2 separate regions of the Homo sapiens genome follow, and region 1 is linked to region 2. The links are contacts of gene promoters, found by promoter capture Hi-C in blood cells and fetal thymus (Javierre and others, 2016). All regions are on one chromosome and are shown on one strand. Each heading gives the region's core, a stretch centred on a gene start or on the middle of the fragment in contact. The rest is flanking DNA. Distances are from core to core; before and after follow the strand shown.

Evidence for each region. The method cuts DNA at HindIII sites, captures the fragments that hold promoters and counts their contacts. A CHiCAGO score of 5 or more calls a contact.
Region 1: a fragment that was not itself captured here is called in contact with the fragment with the promoter of TMEM163 in region 2 in 1 of 17 cell types (neutrophils); the score reaches 6.4 in neutrophils.

Annotation. Positions count from the first base shown.
Region 1 is chr2:134,013,177-134,016,705 of GRCh38, forward strand. The region is part of intron 3 of LOC105373628 (a long non-coding RNA gene); the gene reads right to left. Among named protein-coding and RNA genes, the nearest start is that of MIR3679, 110 kb to the right of the region's middle. The HindIII fragment of the contact is 6,628 bases long and covers 1-3,529 here.
Region 2 is chr2:134,716,996-134,720,763 of GRCh38, forward strand. TMEM163 (transmembrane protein 163) reads right to left here and starts at 2,005. Exons shown (of 8, transcript NM_030923.5): 1 at 1,739-2,005. The coding sequence starts at 1,940. It overlaps LOC105373629 (a long non-coding RNA gene), which reads left to right and starts at 1,117. Exons shown (of 2, transcript XR_923354.4): 1 at 1,117-1,572. RefSeq lists a silencer at 2,089-2,328. The HindIII fragment of the contact is 5,110 bases long and covers 1-3,768 here.

The sequences.
Region 1 (3,529 bases), core at 220-2,719, 700 kb before region 2:
ACAGCTCATCTTCCTTTGAAGGTGGTTTGCAGATTATGTTTTTTCCCTTGAAGACCTTGGGGTCTTAGCCACTCTATCATGGGCTTATTAAACTTCTCAAGAATAATTTTGATGAATTGTTATAGAAAAGCCTGGTGTCTGTTGTAAGACCTCAGACACAAGGCTTTGAGGAAGACTTTGTTATTAACTAAAAAGCCTCATACAGGAAGGAACAAAGCAAGCACATGCAATGCAGAATCTCTACTACTTGTACACCCAGTTCCTTGACTGGCCTTTCTAGACACATGATTTAAATCTAGAAATACAACAGTGGATTGATTCTTTTAGGTACACTGAATTAAGAAGCAAGCTGAGCATAGCAAAATATTATAATATGGCAAGACGTTCTGTGATGTTCTCTTAAAATAGAGCCTAGGTTAGTAATTTCTAAAGAGCTGTTTGTAAAGCCCACTTATAAGTGACTTTTGAAAAGGGTCACACTATTTGTTCAAGCCAAGTAAAAGATGATTCTTACTTGTTTTCCAAGTTCTGAATCAACAGTATCTGTGACATGCAGCTTTTTTGTTGGGGGATGAGGAGGGCAGGCAGATTTCTTCTATAGAATGTTATCTCTCCATCTTAGCACACCAAGTTTACAGTGCTCTCTTTGAATAACACAGGGAAAAGTCATATAGTAATCATCTATCAGGTCAAGGACATTCAGTATGAGAGGAAGCATTTTTTCCTGGCAAGTGATAACAAGCTACAAGAGCAAGCAAAGATCATTAAGAAATATACAGGACATACTAAAACCCAATGGCCTCCCAGTCCACAATATGAGGCCTGAGATATCTGGCCTGCATCTCTGTGCAGTTCTTTAGGACTTCCTTACAGTCTGCACTACATCTATAGTAGATGCCAAAAGTGATACCTCTTGATTTTGCCCTCATACTTAAAAGATATTTTCACTGTGTACAGAATTATAATTTGGCAGCTGTTTTCTTCCACCACATTGAGGAGATGTTTTTTTGCCCTCCATGTTTGCTGTTGAGAAGTCAGCTGTCAGTCTACCTGCATCTCCTTTGATAGTGATCTGTCTTTGCTCTTGGTCTGCTTTTAAGTAGTTTCTTTGTCATTAGTTTTCTGTAGATGTGAGTTTCTTTCCTTTCTTTTTAATCTTGAGATGATTTGTTGTATTTCTTGAATCAGTCGATTGGTATCTTTCATCAGTTGGGCAATAGTCTCAAGAATTACCTTCTACAACATTGCCTCCATCACATTCTCCATCTCCTCTATTTCTGGAAGTCCAGTTACATGTGTGTTAGACCTTATCATTCTATCCTCCATGTATCTTAATTATTTTTTCATATTTACCATCTCCCTGTCTCTTTATGCTGCCTTCTGTACTTTTTTTCTCACTGAGATTTTGGCCTGAAAATTATTCATTCCTGTGTTGGCTCCTCAGTGCTTTTAAGAATATTTTTAAATTATATTTTGTGTAACATTTCTGGTGGTTTTCATTGGTATGATTGTTTTAAATATTTAGTCAAGCACATTCCAAGAAACTGATGTCTATGGTTGAAATTTGATGAGTAAAGCCACTTACATGTTGAAAAATTTTCCACTAAAATGGGAACTTTGGCCTATAAAATTTTTGGAGTTCTTAAATATGTAAATATCTTTTCGATCTAAGACTAAAGACCTTAGAATTTTATAAACTGTTGCATTCTTTTATACTTCCAACTACTTTACTACTGTTACTGACATTTACCATTACATCCAGTTGAGCTTCGAACATTTTCTACAGCTTTGTCTGACTTAAAGTCACAATCTATGATATCATCCTACCAATGGAAAGTAAACTAATGTCTTTATGTGTGCCTGTATGTATTTATACTAGATTATTTAGTAATAGTTTATATTAACTTATATCAAAAATCTTATTCCTAGAAAAAATAATTGCCGTATTTCCTTTAATTGACAATAAATAAATTTCAAAATAGCAGTACCAATATTAATACAAACAGTGATCCTACTCAGTGAAGCTCAATAGAGTAATTGCTTCTTTTTTACCCTTAGAACACATCTCAGTAAGAATGGCAGTCCCGTTAATTTGTATTCTGGTGTATTCCCAGAACTCTTTGTATTCGTGCCCAATAATAGTTGTCAATAAATATTGTTGAATGAATGAATTTTAAAGTCACTCATTATCCCACATTCTTTGTTGCTTTTTAAAATACTTATCTGAAGTTTTCTATAGTCTCATTATTTCCCTTTATTTTTCAACAAAGGTGTTGACATTCTGACAGATGGTAGTTCTAAGTTTTCAAAAGAGAGTAGCTTTGACTACTATTGATAGTATTTTCTCAGTAGCAATATTCAGCTAGTACAGTAGAGTAGAAATTAGTCCTGTCCCACCACTTTAAGAGATATGTGGAAAGTCATTTATAAGAGTTTAGGCACCTCTGGGCCATCCACAATTAGTAAATGCAGGGTCATATCTGAAGAGTCATAAACATAAGATCCTGATATGCAAACCAATTGTGCATTCTACTGTTCAATTTCTAGTCATATTAGACATTGAATATTCAGTTAAAATTTGACTTTATGGAATTCTGATCTGATATTAGAATTTTTATATTATCTGTATACCTTTTCTGAACTAATTTTCCTCTTTTTGTAAAGAGCAATAAATATTCTCTTACCTAAAAAATTATATAAAATATTATTATCCTAAAGTTTATAGTTCATAAATCAAAATCATTCTTCTAATTTGTGTTATTTTGGATCAGCACCAGTTAAAGTCTTTAATTTTCCTTTTGCTCATTTTACAGAGAATCGTAGTGTCTTGGAATTCCATGTGATAACCAAGGAAGGATACATGTAAACACAAGTTATTATGACTGTGTATGAGAGTATTACTTCATAGAGTATATCAGGAATATATTCTTAGGAATCTTACTTTTTTTGAGACAGAGTCTCACGCAGTTGCTCAGGCTGGAATACAGTGGTGGCATGATCACAGCTCATCACAGCCTTGACCTTCCCAGGGTGAGGTGATCCTCCCACCTCAGCCTCCTGAGTAGCTGGGACTATAGGCATGCACCACCACATGCAGCTAATTAGGAATCTTATTTTAAATTAAAGGCAGTCCTAGTATGGAATGCCAAAAATTTTTTTTTTTGAGACTGAGTCTCACTCTCGCCAGGCTGGAGTACAGTGGCGCGATCTCGGTTCACTGGAACCTCCACCTCCCGGGTTCAAGCAATTCTCCTGCCTCAGCCTCCTGAGTAGCTGGGACTATAGGCACGTGCTACCACACCCAGCTAATTTTTGTATTTTTAGTGGACATGGGATTTCACCATGTTGGCCAGGATGGTCTTGATCTCTTGACCTCGTGATCCGCCCACCTCGGCCTCCCAAAGTACTGGGATTGCAGTTGTGAACCACAGCGCCGGCCATGGAATGCCACATTCTAAGAAGCCTTTAAACAAATATGTTTAGTACTATAATATCATGTAAGTTTAGACTTCTAAAAGCAAATTAAGAA
Region 2 (3,768 bases), core at 755-3,254:
TTTCATGCTATCATATAATGGAAAATGAAATTCCGTTGACCAGAGAAAAATAACCTTAAGAATGAATTCAGAAGGGCTTTTTACACTTGAACATGAACTACAAAATGATGCTAAATATGAACTCACCCTAGCACTGTCTTCCCTCCTATCATTTTGTGGGGTAGGGAGAAACAGGCCAGCTCTTAGAGATGACCTGCAATGCTACAAAAATAAGCTCAACCCAGGCTTCTGTCTTTCTTCAATATGGAATTTTTAAATCCTACGATATTAGCTGGAGAGGGGCAAAGGTAATGAACACATCCTATAATAAAAGTGAGAGGTTTTGTTCCATGCTCGTGATGTCCCCTGTCCTCACCTCTTAAATGGCATCTAGTTATGTGAGAACAGGGGGAGAAACTGCAACAGAGGTGCAGAATTCGTTGCCACTGGAGCAGCTCCAGTTCTCGCTGAGCATCTAGGCGGATTCTCTGGGAACTGCCGTTTCCATGTCATTTTATTTCACATGCTACAGTTTAGAATTTCTAAGGAGAAAGAGATCGTGCATCCGAACACTAAACCGGAATAAAAATGTACAGGAGATACTAAGAATAGGACAGAAACCTGCTAAGTCTAAAATATATAAACCCGCCATAGCCAACAAAATAAGGCTTCCAAGAAAAGGGGGTGGAGGTGCAAAAGAGCCGGCTTCCCCTAAAGGGCCTGGCTGCAAGAATCCCTCTTTGGCCACTAAACGGTTTTAGCAGAACCACAGATTCGTTCTGAGGGGGACAATTTGGATTCGGATTCAGCAAGAAGTAGAAAAGGTGCAGACGCGGCCAAGAACAGGGCTCCCTCTGCAAAGAATCCAAGCCCAAAGGAAACGCGGAAGGGATGGAGAAGAGAGACGCGGGAACGAGCAGGGAGTCTCTCCCGTCCTACACTGGCGACTCAAGGGGGCATCGGCAGTCGGTGGGAGGCAGAGTGTGGTCTCCCAGCAGAGGCAAGTGTGCTGACCTCCAGGCCAGTGTCAGTGGAGGGGAGCTCTGAAGGGTCTGCAGACGCGCCCTCCGGAAACATCAGGTTTCAGTGGCATCCATCCAGATGAGGTTGGTGGCCCAAATCCAAATGTCCCATTCCTCTGCCCCATCATGAGACGACGGGGCAGGGACCCACTGTGACCCGCGTCCGCGATTAGAATCGGGGACTGCCCGAGACCAGAGGCCGCCCGAGTCCCGGCTCGCTCCCCTCCTTGCGCCCTTCGCCGGGGCGGGCAGCCGGGCGGCCGCCGAGGGACATCTCGCGGCTACACCCGCAGAGGGAAGTTCTCCCAGGCAGCCGGCGGAGCCGCAGGGGACTACGGAAAGGAGGATGCAACGAGCCTGGGTCCCTCCGAGCTGAGTAGGGCCCGGAGTGGCCCAGAAGCGCTCGACTCCGAACGCAAAAAATGCCTCCCGCAAACTTTTCCCGTGGGCGCCGGAGGGCCTGGAGCTGGCGGAGAGGAGGGCGCGAGTCCAGGCGGGGTCGGCCTGAAGGCAGCTGGGGTCTGGGCTTCGAGGGAAGGAACCGCAGCCGAGGCGGTGCCGGCCGCAGAAGGTGGGGCTGCCGCTCTCGGCTAGCGGCGTTCTCGCCGGGAAGTCGGGGCTCCGCGCCCCCGCGCGCTCCGAGCCCCGCGCCTCGCCCAGCGCGGCCCGCGAGTGGGGAGAGGCGGGCCCCGAGCAGCCACCCCGGTCGCCGGCCGGGTCGGGCAGCTCGCGCTCACCTCGGTCCTCCAGCCCGTCGCTGAACTGGCCGCTCTCGCTGATCCGCACCTGCCGCTCCTCCTCCAGCTGGGGCGGCTCGCGCACCGGGGAGCTCAGCGGGGCCGGGCCGGGGGCGGCAGCCGGTGGCGCGTGGCCCCGGGGCGGCGGCGGGACGGTGGGCCCCTGGGAGCTGCGGCGCTGGATGCCCGCGGCCGGCTCCATGGCGCGGGGCTGCGGATCCCGGCGGCGGCGACGACAAGCGCGGCGGGGACTCGAGTCAGAAGTGCGAGGCGCCGCGGCTCTGGCGGGGGCAGGAGCGGACGGACTGGCCGCGTGGACAGGGAGGGAGGGCGGGCGGGCGCCGCGGAGTGGAGGTGCACGGGCGGGGGCGGGGACGAGCGGAGAGCCGCTCGGCTCCGCGGCCGGTGGCGGAGGCTGGGGCCGCGTTGTTGCCGCCGCGCTCCGCCCCTGGGGGCAGGTGCGGGCGGCAGGGACCCGCCCCAAGGCCCGGGCGCGGGAGCCGGCGCACCGAGGCGGACGAGAGGGAGGAACCAGCGTGAGGACCCACAGGCGGCCCTGGCAGAGCTTGGCTAGGGCGTAGCGGGGACCCGCCCCACCTGCGCCGCGGGATGGTGCCCAGAGGGGACCCCTCCCACTGGATTCCTCTGGGGTCCGCGAAGCCCGCGGCCGCGCGTGGGTAGCAGACAGCGCCCCTAATTTGGCATCTTTCTCTTCTGGAGCTGCACAGGCTTCAGAGGCTGTACAGGGTCTTCGCCTGGGCCTCCATTCTCACTGCTCATCCAGGGAAAAAGGGTTCATCTGTCCCCAAGCCCGTCGCTCTCCGTCCTTCTCGGAGCTTTAACTCCCCTCCCAGTTTCTCCCTGGAGCACCCATTTAGCCAGGGATGGGGTATCTTTAGGACAGCGGGCGCTATAGAAGATGCTTGAACTCCGAGGCTTCCCCATTTCGACTCTTCCTGGGCCTTTGTCCCATACAGTTCGCTCCCCTGCTCATCTAAGTCTTGTGTGATCTTCAGAAATCCATGGAAGCCTCCCTTCTACGAGAAGTCTCCCCTACTCTGACCCCTGCAGCTCTTAATTCATTTTGTGCGGTGGGGCTGATCTCACCAGTGAGAGTCCACCGCAGGGCACACGCCAGCTCTCTTGATGCCCAGAGAGGAGCAAAAGAGGACCTGCTGTTTAATAAATTCAGCTTGGATTTGTTGAGGCTCAGAAAAGTATACCCCAACGTATGGCACTTTGGTATGCTAAGTTTGAACTAAAAAACTAAACAGGCCTCTGAAGCCGCCTTAGAAACAAAGTCTGTCTCCCCCCCGACTTTCTCCCCACTAAGCAGTTCACAGAAACCAGAATTCCTCTTCCCTACGGTGGTCATACAACCTAGAAATAGTACTCCAACCTCCCTGGTCCTCTGCCTTTCTGTGTAGGAGCTGGCCATGAAGAAATACTCAGACCTACCTTGTCTGATAGTAGATCCTGAGACCCTCATTCCAGAAGAGGTCCTGCTCTATACATGCTGCACAGAGAGGCCAAGAAGAATCTGAACAGGCCTCGCTGGGTTCAACCCTCAGTCTATTACCATTAGATCACACCCTTTGTCCAATCACATTTCTATAAGGCTGTCCATTCTTCACTGAATCTAAGCATAAAAACAGGCAGTTTTCCCTGAGTCTTTGCATCTTCATTTCTGAAGGCTCCTGTATCACATAAAACTTTGATTCAATAAATTTGTTACGCTTTTCTCTTATTAGCCTATCTTTTGTTATAAGCATGTTTGCCGTGCCCCTTATGATGGGGAGGAAAGTATCACACCTTTTCTGCCCCTACCGTTTCAATGGTATCAACATCCAAGCTCTAGAGTCCGGCTTTCGTCTTTAGATTGATTCAGTCTCTGAATTTAATCCGGGTACTCCAAAATGTCAATTCCTCATTTAAAGGAGTCCTCCTCGTTTCTTGAAGAGTCACCCTTTTCCTTTTTCTTGTCTGCTTTGCTTGTGATTGAAATGAGAGTAGGATTTAAATGCCTTTGT